Linked DNA regions of Homo sapiens: all the other regions are linked to region 1. The links are contacts of gene promoters, found by promoter capture Hi-C in human tissues and cell types (Jung and others, 2019). All regions are on one chromosome and are shown on one strand. The core of a region is centred on a gene start or on the middle of the fragment in contact, and the rest is flanking DNA. Distances in the headings are between cores, read along the strand shown. Region 1 holds the start of CELSR3 (cadherin EGF LAG seven-pass G-type receptor 3). Region 2 overlaps USP19 (ubiquitin specific peptidase 19). Region 3 overlaps ARIH2 (ariadne RBR E3 ubiquitin protein ligase 2). Region 4 holds the start of FBXW12 (F-box and WD repeat domain containing 12). Region 5 has its middle 28 kb from the start of PLXNB1.

Region 1 (2,600 bases), core at 69-2,568:
TCGCCGGCGTCCGGGTCCTGAGCAACCACGCGTAGCACCGCGGTGCCTGCTGCCTCATTCTCCGGCACCAGCGTCTGGTAGTTGTACTGCGGAAACTGCGGGTGGCGGTTTGCGGCGCGACGAAAGCGTGCCCGGTTCGCCGAGGTTACTTTCCTGGCTTCAGGACGGGCCGGGAGTCCCGGGGGACGCGGCCCGGGGCGCTGCGGGAGGAAGCGGCAGCGGAAGAGACCCCGGGAGCGCATGCGCTTGGGCGCCGGCTCGGGAGCTGTCCGAGACTCGCGGGGTGCTGAACCTGATGCAGGAGCTGTCCTCGCCGTGCGTGGTGCTGAATCCAGCTCGGGGCCAGATCCCGAGGCCCCTGGAAGACAGTTCCGCCGGGGGGCTGTCCTTTCTGCTCCGGATGTCGTGGCTCTCTCGCCCTGACCCTTGCTCCCTGTTGCCCATAATTCCCCACAGCAGCGCGCGGTGCCCACTCTTTTGCGGGAGCCTGTCCCAGCGTTCCGCTGGGAGGACACCGGCTTGGGACCGTGGTGCCGAATCAAAAAGTCTGAAGGGAGGGGCGAGCTGTTCCCCGAGCCCGGGACCCCTGAGGACAGAGCCCCTGGTGACAGACTACCTCTTTGCAAAGGTCCTGTCCGCCCGCAAGAGGAGACCTCTGGGCGCCAGTATAACACAGACCCTGGTCCCTGTCCTGTCTCTCGTTCGCGGCTGCCCAATGGCTGGACGCCGTGTTCAATCCCCAGCTCCTCATTCGGCTGCTCAGGGGGCCCTCGACTATTCCGGGCGCTTTGCCTTCTCCCTCGGAGCCCCACGAAGATAGGCTCCCTGACCCCCAGGCCAGGCCCCCCATCCTCCCGGACCCCGGAAGACTCCGGACAAAGAGCTAAGGCTCCGCCACCGATATGCGCCCTTGGCCCCGTAGTGGCAGCTAAGCCTGGGTCCCAGCCCTGGTGCCCACCGCCCCCCAGCTCCTCCTGGCTGAGGGGGAACAAAGAGAGGAGAAGGAGCAGGAGTATGGGGGTCGACCGTCCCCCGAGGCCCCGCCACGGCGGCCGCCTCGCCATCATCCCCCGCCTCCCTGCACGGCCTCCACCGCCCCCCGCCCCGGTCCGGGCCTTGGGCTGGCCCCGCCGCTCGGGCCCCCTCCCGGGCCCCTGCCGCCGCCCCGGGCCCCCGCCCCTCCGCCTGTCTCTCCGCACCCCCGCCGCCCTCTGGGCACCATCTACTCCGCGGCCGGAGCCCCTCCGGCGTGCGGCCCTGGCTTTTTCCGCCCCCACCACAGCATCCCCGACGCTGCTGCCGCCTCCCGCCGCTCCAACATGGCTCCCGGCCGCCCCGATGGTTCGCTCCACCTCTGCCCCGGCGCCCGAAACACGGTGGTACAACCCATCGCGCATGGCAGCTCTGAGGACCGAAGATGTTGCCGCCATCTTTATTGAGGACGTGAGCGTTGCTCCTGGTGCTGAACAGAGCGCGAAGGTTCGCCGTCGTTGGGTCCGCCCTCCCCACTTTCGGTCGCCGCCTTCACCCACCTCCCTCCTTCTAGGGCGCTGTCCCAGCTCCGTCTCCCAGCCTTTTTCTGTCCTTCCAGATCTCTTGTTCCCCCTTCCTGACCACTAGTTCTGAACCGTGTCCCGGATTTTGGTCTGAAATTTTGGTGCCCATGAGCGTTCTCATAGCTCTGGGAGGGGGTACTGTGTGAAATCCTGGGGTAGAGGGGACGATGGCTGGAGAGGGGTCTGGGGTGCCAGCACCCCGAACAATAGCTTTAACTATCCCATCAGCTAGTTTTATGAAACATGTCGCGACCACCTGCTTGTTTGGATCGCCCCTGCGGAGCAGGGACCAGAGATGACCCTCCCGAGGCGGGAGCAGAGGCCAAATTCTTCCCTGCCTTGCTGGTCCCCAGCAGTCTCCCGGGCTCGGGGCCCCTTCACTGGAGGCTGCACCCCCTCCCAGGCTGCGAGTCCCGAGTGCTCTGGGATGCCACGTGGAGCCCGGCGTTGCCCCATGGCTGCGGGCCCCGCTTCTTCGGGTCCCCGCCCCTCGTCCGTCACGACCGCATGCCTTAACCCCTTGAAGGGACTGACACAGAAACTCAGTCCTCCCCCCACCCTCGGTGCATTCCAGCTCTCCCTGCGTAACTCCTGGCACGCGCCGGTCTCGCCAGGCCAATGGGTGGACCTGGCGCAACAGACGTCACGAGAGGAGCGGAGGCGAGGGGTGAACGCGGAGCACTCCAATCGGTCAGTCATTGTTTCTATTGGCACAATGGGAGGCCCCGCCCCTCACGGCGGACTCATCGCATGGGGGAGGGGGCTCCGCGGGTTGCCGGCTAACCGTGAGAGAGTCCGGGAGGTACACTATACGGACCGGCCTCCAAAGGCGGAATCGATAACGAGCTGCAGCGCCGGGTGCAGAGGACGCGGGCATCCCGAAGCCCAGGAAGAGGTCAGGGCCGGGACCCCAGAACGCTCCACAGGGTGCGGCTCCCGCGATGGGGTGGATCCTGGTTCTAACAGGCGAGGAACTCCTGGCCAAGGCCTCTGGCCCGCCCCGAACGGTCCCTATGACATCACCATCAACCAATCAGTCGGCGC
Region 2 (2,600 bases), core at 67-2,566, 450 kb after region 1:
TTGGAGGCTACCAACACAAACTCCTGCAAGCGCTCATTGTTCCGCCAGACGAGAGCCAGGCTACAGTCGTCACCCAGCTCCAGTGGGGTGTCTCCTGGAGATTCGCAGGGAGAGAGGTCATGCAGCTGTGGAGAACAGCCAGCTCAACCCACCCCATGGCTCCCACCCACAGCCTCAGACACCTTTGTCCTCTAGCCGCTGCTCTCGGTTGGATGAATCAATTTTATAGATGAAGAACTGGGGTGTGTGGGCATTCATAGCTTCACTTGGATGCTGGTACCCAGGCACAGCAGCTGTGTGAGAACATGATAATCAAAGCTTCCCTGCCCATCAGGGCCTCACCAGGCCCACCAGGCCCTAAACAACAGCCCCCTCCATCCTCCCTTATCCTCCTCCCCAGCTTCTAGAGCCTTTCACTGGATCTTACCTTCGGGTCGGGACACCCTCTCGCCAGCTGGCAAGGAGCCAACCTCAATGGGCCCACTGGCCAGCATCTCAGAAGAAATTCCACTGGTGCTGGGCACAGGACCCCGGTCAGGGGCTGCCCACACCCGGGGAAGCCCTGTGTCCCCCTCAGCCATAGGGGTCACCAGCTGGAGCTCAGGTGGCTGAATGGGGTCTCTCTCGCTGTCCCCAGCCTCCAGGGAACCTGTGGAGAGCAGTGTGGTGCAGCCAGGGCTCTGAGACTCCAAGGCCATGCGGCCTGGCTGAAAGGGTGGCTGGAATACACTCACAGAGTACCTGGCAACAGAGAACAACGCAAGTAAGACTCCTGACCAGCCCATCTAGCACCTCTGCCCCCACCTACACCACTCTAGTCCAACCACTGGGCACTTACCGGGCATAGCCCTCTAGCAACTGAGCGAGGCGGGCATAAGTGAGGCGTGAGGCAGGTACACTGACCAGGAAGGGGTAGCCAATGTTCTCAGGTCGGCAGAGGCCCTTGTGGTCAGGCCAGTGGGTTTTCTGGCAGAGCCTGACGGGAAGAGGAAGACAAGGATAGGCCCTTAGCCCCATCTCCTATGACTCCATACTGGGGGCTAGTCATAGTCCCTGGGAACTGGGTACGCCAGCCCTGCCTCCCCCAGAGCCTGGTAAAGTAGGGTGGCAAGTAGAAAGCTTAAGCATATGTGCCTTGGTGTGAAGGGAAGGAGCAGGGTGGCACATGGAAGGTGGAAAGAAAGGGTAGGGGAGACCATGGGGGTCCTCACTGGTTGCAGTAGCCCACACGGTAGCACCGGGTACAGCGCTTCAGCTTTTCATCCTCCGACTGTTGCTTCCGCTGGCAGGCTGCACACTTGGAGATGGGGACGCTGGGCACCTGGGGGCGCTAGGGTGGGTCGTCTGGCTCAGCAAGACCAGGAAGAAGTGCCCCACCCACCAGGGCGCTGTGCCATCAGGTTGGCCCCCACTCACCTGTTGCACCTCTAGCACCACTACCCGCTCCTTAGCCAACTCTGAGGATAGCAGCTCAAAGCAGAGGAGCGTATCAGATGGGGACACAGTGTCCAGTGAGTGGGAGGGTAGGAACACACGATGAAAACGATTCTTAATTACCTGGGGACAGAGAACACACAGATCCCACGTGAGGATAAGCCCTTTCCCTAGCCCTGCCCCAGAGTTTAAGAAGGCTTGGCCCTGCCTTGGGTCTATGTGGGCAGTGGTGAGGTCTGTAGGCCCAAATAGGCTTATGCCTCTGCTGGCACCTGTCTCAGTGCCCAATGCCATAAGGAGCCTGGTGCATCAGAGGGCCTGAAAGACCAGGTGTGAGGCAGATATCAACCACACCAGCTCTCCACACTGAGGGACTCTGCCCTGCTATAACTAGCATAGCCTTATAAGACTGTAACATATTATCATGGAGGGTCCACATTCAAAGAGCCTCCTCCCCACTCTTACCCCTAAGAAAACCAACACTGTCAGGCTAAAGGCTAGGAACCCCTGGGGAGAGCTAGCACACACAACTGGGATAAAAGGAGAGAGCAGCAGGATAGAGGGAGAGGCAGAGCGAACATAGGGATAGTCCTGCAGCTCAAGCTCCTTGTCTAAAAAGGGAAATGCAGTTGGGATCCACCACCACAAAGGGGAATAAACCCTGATAATGGCTAGGAACTGAGGGCACTTCTGTTGCACAGAAAAAATAACAGCACATCGCCTGTTTTTGTACAGTCACAGGCATACTCATGTGTATGTCTATTTTTATTTTATTTTATTTTATTTTTGAGACAGAGTCTCACTCTGTCACCCAGGCTGGAGTGCAGTGGCGCGATCTCGGCTCACTGCAACCTCTGCCTCCCAGGTTCAAGCGATTCTCCTGCCTCAGCCTCCTGAGCAGCTGGGACTACAGACATGTGCCACCACGCCCGGCTAACTTTTCCTGTATTTTTAGTAGAGGTGGGGTTTCACCATGTAAGCCAGGGTGGTCTGGATCTCCTGACCTTGTGATCCATCAGCCTTGGCCTCCCAAAGAGCTGGGATTACAGGCATGAGCCACCACGCCTGGCCCTATTTTTATTTTTTTATCTATTTATTTATTTATTTTTGAGACAGAGTCTCACTCTGTCACCCAGGCTGGAGTGCTGTGGTGCAATCTCTGCTCA
Region 3 (2,600 bases), core at 74-2,573, 300 kb after region 1:
AGTATATTCTTCTACCCCAGTTTTAATACTAGCACAGTATTCTATCATAGATATTCCATACTTTTTCCAAACCTCTGTTGTTGGACAGTGAATTCAGATTTTCTTTCCCATTGTTAATTTTTAATCAGTGCCTTTCTAGGTAACACGCGCCAACATCTTTTACTTCTTTTGGATACGTCAACTTGAGGATTGTATCATAGTACGAGTTGTATTTCCTTTAGAAAATGTAGGCTGCTGGCTGTACGTGGTGGCTCATGCCTGTAATCTCAGCACTTTGGGAGGCTGAGGCGGGCGGATCACCTGAGGTCAGGAGTTTGAAATCAGCCTGGCCAGCATGATGAAACCCCTTCTCTACTAAAAATATGAAAATCAACCTGGCGTGGTGGTGCACTCCTGTAGTCCCAGCTACTCAGAAGGCTGAGGCAAGAGAATCGCTTAAACCCTGGAGGCAGAGGTTGCAGTGAGCCGAGATTGTGCCACTGCACTCCAGCCTGGTGGCAGAGTGAGACTCCATCTCAAAAAAAAAAACAGAAAGAAAATATAGGCTACTTTACCACCCACCACCTCTACCAGCAGTGTATTTGAGTATTTCTTTCCACCTCCTCCAGAACTAGAGATCTTAAGATACAGACCTTAGAGTCTCAAGATGTCTTACAAGTTGTCAGGAAAAGGGGCACCTCCTCCTCTGCATCCTCTGTAGAGATCTCCTATGCTCACCCTCGGAGGCGTGTGCCCCTGTCTAGCACAGTGTTTCTCATCCTCAGCATTATTGACATTTTAGACTAGATAACTCTTTGTTGTGGGGGGCCTGATCTGTGAATTGTAGGATGTCTGGCAGCATCCCTGGGCTCTATTAGAAGCCACACCTCTAAGTCCTTGGCAATCAAAATGTCTCCAAACATTGTCAAATAACTCGTGGGGAGCAAAATTCCCTCTGGTGAGAAGCACTTGTTACCATTCCTACTCTTTCACACTGCAGTGAATCTTCCTTTCTCGTATGGTATGTTTTTTTTTATTTTTATTTTTTTGAGACAAAGTCTCACTCTGTCACCCAGGCTGGAGTGCAGTGGCACAACCTTGGCTCACTGCAACCTCCATCTCCAGGGTTCAAGCAACTCTCCTGCCTCAGCCTATGAAGTAGCTGGGATTACCAGCACTTGCCACCATGCCTGGTTAATTCTTGTATTTTTAGTAGAATTTATCTACAGAGGAAGATCGTGCCTTTCCTTCTCCGGGCTGAACACAACTGGGAAGGACATACCAGCTGGAGCAGCTCAGCACAGTCAGGAAAGAGCAAATTCGTTCCTGATTCACTAACTGCACTCATCCTGTGTACTCAAGAACGGAATATATTTAGATGGAATTGCAGATGAACTGCTGCTGCCTTATTATTATACTACTGCCCAAAACTCTGGAACCACATAGGTTCTGGCAATAGGATATCTCTCACTGCCCACACTCTTTCAGCATAACTCAGGAGTGGAGATTTGGATGGCAAAAGATACTTAAAATATTACTGTGGGAATTAGGAATAAAACGGGCCCCTCAATAAGGATAGCTGAGGGAAGCATTCTGACTAGGTAGAAATCACATAGATGAGACATAATTCTTTTCTGCTCCAATTCCTGGTATCTTGGAAATATGTTGACCTGGGCTTTGTGTGGCACTTTTATTGCCACTTGATAATTCTGTTATAAATGGAAAATTATTGTAGGTAACTCTTACTGTCACGTAATTTTTCTGGAGTTAAATATAGAAAAGGAATTATTGGCTATAGCATACGTGTAGTTTTGTCTTTGCTAAATAATTCCAGGTTGTTTTCCAGAGTGATTTACCACTTTACACGCTCAGCAGTGGTATATAGGTGTTCCTGATATTGTAAGACTTAAAGTTTTGCAGTTTGGTGGATGTAAATGGCATCTAATTGTTTCAATGGTCCTGTATTATTAAGGAGGTTGAGAATCTTTTCATATGTTTAATGGCCATTTGTGCTGCCTCCTCCTTTGAAATGCCTGTTAAGTCTTCTCCCCATTTTTTATTGAGTTATTTTGTTATTCCAAATGGATCCTTCCCCCTTCTCCCATGTCCAGTTCCTAGAACCAAATGGATTTTTAGGAGTTTTGTTTACTCTGAATACTGATCCTTTGCCAGTTATTTTTTTTATTTTTATTTTTATTTTTATTTTTTTTAAAGACAGAGTCTTGCTCTGTCTCCCAGGCTGGAGTGCAGTAGTGCAGTCTCTGCTCACTGCAACCTCCACCTCCCAGGTTCAAGCGATCCTCCTGCTTCAGTCTCCCAAGTAGCTGGGATTACAGGCATGAGCCAACACTCCCGGATAGGGTTTCACCATATTGGCCAGGTTGGTCTCAAACTCCTGACCTCAAGTGATTTACCCACCTCGGCCTCCCAAAGTGCTGAGACTACAGGTGTGAGCCACTGCGCCCAGCCATATATATAGAATTTTTTTTTTTTTTTGAGACAGAATCTCGCTCTGTCTTGCAGGCTGGAGTGCAATGGCACAATCTCAGCTCACTGCAACCTCTGCCTCCCGGGTTCGAACGATTCTCTTGCCTCAGGCTCCCAAGTAGCTGGGACTATAG
Region 4 (2,600 bases), core at 101-2,600, 290 kb before region 1:
CAGTAGCGCAATCTCAGCTCACTGCAACCTCCACCTCCCAGCTTCAAGCAATTCTCCTGCCTCAGCCTCCCAAGTAGCTGGGATTACAGGCACCCGCCACCACGCCCAGCTAATTTGTTGTATTTTTAGTAGAGACAGGGTTTCACTATGTTGGCCAAGCTGGTCTCAAACTCCTGACCTGGTGATCCACCCGCCTCGGCCTCCCCAAGTGCTGGGATTACGGGCATGAGCCACTGTGCCTGGCCTCTGTTCCTCTATTTCAAATTCATTCATTCACTCATTCGGCAATTTGCTTCAGTTTCCTTATGTTTGCCTCTTTCTCATCTGTCCTCTTTTCCATTTTATTCCTACTCTGTCTCAGTCCACTTACAGTTATATTTCCTATCTGTGTATTTTATAATATTTGTGCTTTAATACTTTTAAAATATCCTTTATTTTACTGTTTCTTCTCTTCCCTTGTCATATTTTAAAGTGTTTTATTTCTCAGCCTTCTATATCTTTGCATTAATTCTGTTCCTCTACAATAGAGTCCGTTCCAAGCTTTCTGTCTTCCTGTGTCCTTCCACGGCTCTGGCTCTCTCTGCATTATTTCCTATTTATGGAATACAAATCTTTTACCCTTGTATTTTTCTCACTCCTCTCCACACACCCCTTGACTCGCCTTTCCCCACGCCCCTCTAGGTGCTTCTTGGTCTTTGCTTTTCCTTTTTATTTCCTCACCATGTCAATTTGTATTTTTCCTCTCTCTTACTACTGTATCATAAATGGGACTCCCGACAACCACTCCCGTGTGTCTGCCTGGAGGCAGCAGTTTTAAGAAGGGTTGGCCACTGAGCCTCACAGAGGGACCCCTGTCTTATGCTGCAGCAAAGTACCATAGACTGGGTGGCTTACAAACAAATTTATTTCTCACAATTTTGGAGGAGAGAAGTCCAAGAGTCACCTGTCAGCACGGTCAGGTTCTGGTGTGGGCCTTCTTCCAGGTTGCAGCTGACACCTTCTCATGTCCTCGCATGATATGAACAGGGCTAGAGAGCGTTCTGGGGTCTCTTTTATAAGGTCACTGGTCCCATCATAAGGACTCTGCCTGTGACCCACTTACCTCCCAAAGGCCCCCCACCTCCAATCACACCAAGGGTTAGAATTTCAACGTAGGAATTTTGAGAGGACACAAACACCCAGGCTATGACACGGTCTTTAGAAAATCCCAGAATGAGTTGTCAGGTTCTTGGGAGATCTGTAACTGTGGGAAAGCGTCACATCCCAGGGAAAGCCACCAGCTGGGAGAGCCATCCCAGACAAGGCCTGCTCCCTTTGGGCGGACCTCTGTGGAGAAGCCAGCTTGGCACGTTCTTTCTCCTCCACTGCAAAGTTAAATGCGAGAAGGTAGAAACCCAGAGGCCATGCTGGCGCTGAGAGATGAGCCCCACTCACCAGATTCAAGATCCCAAGGTAGGCACAGACACAGGGCAAGCAGACTCCAATTCCAGGAGTTTGGAACTTAAATAGAGTCATAGAGACACTCAGATCTGATCAAAGTGAGTGCACTCGGTGACATTTCCTAAAGGGTTCTGACAACTTCATCTGCAACTGGGGCTGCCCCAGGTTCTGCACCTCCAGCTCACAGCGCACAGGTGTTGCTGAGCTCCTCTAAACAATGAACAGCACTAACAAGTGGGTTTAGGTAGGGATGCCTGCCAGCTGTGTGGATCAGGCCCCAGGGGAGAGGCCGGGGTGGAGGTCAGCCCGGGAGTCTGCACACCTGCAGCTTGTTTCTACCGCACACAGATGGGCATGGGTGAAAATCTTTACAAGTGCTGCAGACTTTGGCAAAGCCTATAAATTCAGAGCAGCCCGGAGAGGAGAAAGGAAAGTGGATGTGGGTTCAGGCCGCATGAAATGGAGATCCGATTGCCTGACTTAGCTTTGAAGCGAATCTTCTCTTTCCTGGACCTGTTCGGCTTGCTGCAGGTTTCCCAGGTGAACAAGGTAAAGGCCTTCCACCTCCCACTGCCCCCCAAGCCCGCTGCTTCTCTCGACCAGTTTGAGCACCACTTTGCAGAATAGCAGAGGGTTACACTGAGGCTTTGGGGGTTAGCATTCTTCATACTGAGGGCCTCATATTCTGTTAAACGAAAAGGACAAGCTGATATCCAGGAGTTGTGCTGACTAAACAGTCCTTGAGGCTCCCATTTCAAGCCCTAGGAAATCAACACTTCTTCCTGTGAATTCATGGGAATACCCAGTGCCTGTATTAGCAGTGATAGGTCTCTGTTGTTACCATTTCCTTATCTCCCCACACTGAGAGTGCTTTGAGAGCTGGAATCCCATCTGATTAACCTGTGCGGGCCCAGCTCCCAGAACAAATAATAGCAGAGGATTACCCTTGCTCTCTGATGTAACTGATTGCCTGCTTGTCTCTTCCTTTCTCTCCCATAGCATTGGAATAGGATTGCAGACAGTGATTACCTGTGGAGGTAAGGGAAGGGAAAGGGCAAGGAGGGAAGGGGAGAGGAGATCATCTGACTGCGCACCCATGCTGTGTCCCAAGGCCTGTGTGGCTGTGTTGTGAGATATACACAGGAAAGTTAGTGTGAGTA
Region 5 (2,600 bases), core at 69-2,568, 260 kb before region 1:
AGTGATTTTCCTTCCTCAGCCTCCCCAGTAGCTGGGATCACAGGTGCACACAATCACACCCGGCTAATTTCTGTATTTTCAGTAGAGATGGGGTTTCACCATGTTGATCAGGGTGGTCTCGAACTCCTGACCTCAAGTGATCCACCCACCTTGGCCTCCCAAAGTGCTGGGATTACAGGTGTGAGCCACTGTGCCCGGCTGTTTTCTTGACTAGTCACTCACTGTTATCTCAACTATGTCCTAAGACATAGCTCACCCTAAAACCAGAATTCACGTTAAAGACAGGGTAAGATTACTCACTAAGCTCCAGCACTACTGAATTCCACTGTTGTGATTTCTCTCTCTCTTTTTTTGAAGAGACAGGGTCTCACTGTCACCCAGTCTGGAGTGGAGTGGCATAATCTTTCACTGCAGCCTCAAACTCCTGGAGTCCAGCAATCCTCCCACCTCAACCTCTTAAATAGCTGAGACTACAGATGTGTGCTACCATGCCCAGCTAATTTTTAAACAGTTTTCGTAAAGATGGGGTCTGGCTATCTTGCCCAGGCTTGCAATTTATAGAGCTCCAGACACCCTCATTGGTAGCTGCTTCTGATAAATTCCACACTATGGCCAGAAGATGGCAGCAAACCACCAGCTTCAGCCACTTACCTGTGGCCCAGGACACCGGACCAGGTTTCCAAAATCTGAGCTTCACATTCCTAGACCTCCAGAGGTTCTCTTCATGGCCACCTGGACAACTGGCAAACCATTCTGTTTCCTTACACGTGCACATATCATCCAGATAACTGAAACTCTTATCAATAAAACCCCAACATCACAACCAGGGCATAAATTCTCTTTCAAACATCATGGTGATATCCTTATCTTAGATTTTTGGTAAACATTTGGAATTGGATAAACCATCATCCTTAATTAAGACAGAGAACACTTTTTTTTTTTTTTTTTTGAGATGGAGTTTTGCTCGTCACCCAGGCTGGAGTGCAGTGGCGCGATCTCGACTCAGTGCAACCTCCGCCTCCCGGGTTCAAGCGATTCTCCTGTCTCAGCCTCCTGAGTAGCTGGGATGAGAGGCGCCCGCCACCACACCTGGCTAATTTTTTGTATTTTTAGAAGAGACGGGGTTTTGCCATGTTGGGCAGGCTGGTCTCAAACTCCTGACCTCAGATGATCCGCCTGCCTCGGCCTCCCAAAGTGTTGGGATTACAGGGGTGAGCCACTGCGCCTGGCCGACAGAACACTTTTAAAGAGAGATCCATAAAACATCGCCAGTCAGCTGACCTAGGTAGTTTGGGGTGTATTTGTTCTTCAATGTGGCATCCTTAGGGAACCTGGTGGAGGAAACACATGCATCAGCAGCCATTGGTGCCAAGCAGAACACAGCTAGGTTCCCTGTATCCCCCAGCACCACCCAGAGTCACCTGTTGGCACTGGCCAGTGGGATCCAGGTCCTGACCATTTGGAAGGTTTCAGGTGGCTTCTAAGAATTCCAACATTCATCAGCATAAATTCAGCTGTTATCTTAATTAGCACGATTATTTCAGTATCAGAAAATTAATAAAAATATAGAACTCCTGGGTCATGTAACCATTTGGACAATTATTCCAACTTTTAAGTTGGTGAAAACGCTTTTTAATAAAGCACATCACTCCATAAAACGCCTTAAGGAGCCCCGGGTGGTAATGAGAAACAAAGGCCCTTTGTATGCTAACAGGTTTGTGAAAAATGTAATAATGAGGGCACACTTTCGTTGCAGTCTTAATAAAAATTAGGAAAAGATTGATCAAACTGAATTACAAATGTTCTATGCTGAAATTGTGGTCATGACCCAAGTTAAGCGATCACAAATTCTTGCTGGTGTTGGAATCTCCATTCTTGGTCATGGTTTGGAGTGAAGACAGAATTTCCTATCTTCTTGTGCCAGGTTTTTCTTCTCTATGTCTGTTATTATAACAATGTTCTGTGGCGGCTGAGCCATGACTCAGTGAGTGACTCAAAGCACGTTCAGTACTCACCCCTCCCGCGGGCACGTGCCCAGGCTTGCAGGCACATGGCCCCCCTCTCCCGGGAGCCTTCACCTACCCCTAAAACCTGCAGGGGCCTGAACCTGGAACAGAGAGGCCTCTGGAACAGAGGCATGGCTCTGTCGAGGTCTGTGGTGCTGACCAAGGCTGCTTCCCTCTGTGTCTGCTTGAAGTCCACCCTCAAGTGGATTTCCCATCCACCCTGCTCCCAGAGATGGTCAAGATGGAGACCCATTCCATGGTCTCCAACGGGAAAAGTCAGGACCATTCTGGGTGGCTATGAAAACCTGGCCAGAGCATCCAAGCTCACATGCTCCCAAATGATGGCACCTGGCTGCTGACCTGACTGTGGTCCCCACATCCGGCAGAAATGGGAAAGAAGGGACAATGGAGCCACAGCGAAGAATAGCAGCTATGACTACCCCCGGCACAGACAAGACCAACATGGCTCCTTAGGGACAAGGACTTTGTGGATTGTAGGGGCAACCCTACAGTGGATGGCTTTATTTAGGGCCAAAAAAAGGCAGGGGATAGGAGTCCTCCTGGAATTCTATCAGTCTGTCTCTCTCTAAACAC

What was found. The method cuts DNA at HindIII sites, captures the fragments that hold promoters and counts their contacts. A contact is called where the count stands out against the background at its distance.
Region 2: a fragment that was not itself captured here is called in contact with the fragment with the promoter of CELSR3 in region 1 in 1 of the 25 tissues and cell types used here (dorsolateral prefrontal cortex).
Region 3: a contact is called between a fragment that was not itself captured here and the fragment with the promoter of CELSR3 in region 1, in 1 of the 25 tissues and cell types used here (adrenal gland).
Region 4: the fragment with the promoter of FBXW12 here is called in contact with the fragment with the promoter of CELSR3 in region 1 in 2 of the 25 tissues and cell types used here (lymphoblastoid cells and spleen).
Region 5: a fragment that was not itself captured here is called in contact with the fragment with the promoter of CELSR3 in region 1 in 1 of the 25 tissues and cell types used here (IMR-90 fibroblasts).

What each region holds. Positions count from the first base shown.
Region 1 is chr3:48,661,568-48,664,167 of GRCh38, forward strand. CELSR3 (cadherin EGF LAG seven-pass G-type receptor 3) reads right to left here and starts at 1,319. Exons shown (of 35, transcript NM_001407.3): 1 at 1-1,319. The coding sequence starts at 1,067. It overlaps LINC02585 (long intergenic non-protein coding RNA 2585), which reads left to right and starts at 2,201. Exons shown (of 3, transcript NR_111921.1): 1 at 2,201-2,246. RefSeq lists enhancers at 1-213, 1,325-1,514, 1,385-1,970, 2,285-2,600. The HindIII fragment of the contact is 20,539 bases long and covers 1-2,600 here.
Region 2 is chr3:49,111,073-49,113,672 of GRCh38, forward strand. USP19 (ubiquitin specific peptidase 19) reads right to left here. Exons shown (of 27, transcript NM_001199161.2): 18 at 1,417-1,557; 19 at 1,212-1,330; 20 at 839-976; 21 at 428-741; 22 at 183-293; 23 at 1-94. Among named protein-coding and RNA genes, the nearest start is that of QARS1, 7.6 kb to the left of the region's middle. The HindIII fragment of the contact is 5,151 bases long and covers 1-2,600 here.
Region 3 is chr3:48,961,859-48,964,458 of GRCh38, forward strand. The region is part of intron 4 of ARIH2 (ariadne RBR E3 ubiquitin protein ligase 2); the gene reads left to right. Among named protein-coding and RNA genes, the nearest start is that of P4HTM, 27 kb to the right of the region's middle. RefSeq lists an enhancer at 1,684-2,331. The HindIII fragment of the contact is 8,208 bases long and covers 1-2,600 here.
Region 4 is chr3:48,370,869-48,373,468 of GRCh38, forward strand. It overlaps FBXW12 (F-box and WD repeat domain containing 12), which reads left to right and starts at 1,351. Exons shown (of 11, transcript NM_207102.2): 1 at 1,351-1,452; 2 at 1,816-1,989; 3 at 2,440-2,477. The coding sequence starts at 1,900. The HindIII fragment of the contact is 16,322 bases long and covers 1-2,600 here.
Region 5 is chr3:48,400,439-48,403,038 of GRCh38, forward strand. No RefSeq gene overlaps it. Among named protein-coding and RNA genes, the nearest start is that of PLXNB1, 28 kb to the right of the region's middle. The HindIII fragment of the contact is 5,455 bases long and covers 1-2,600 here.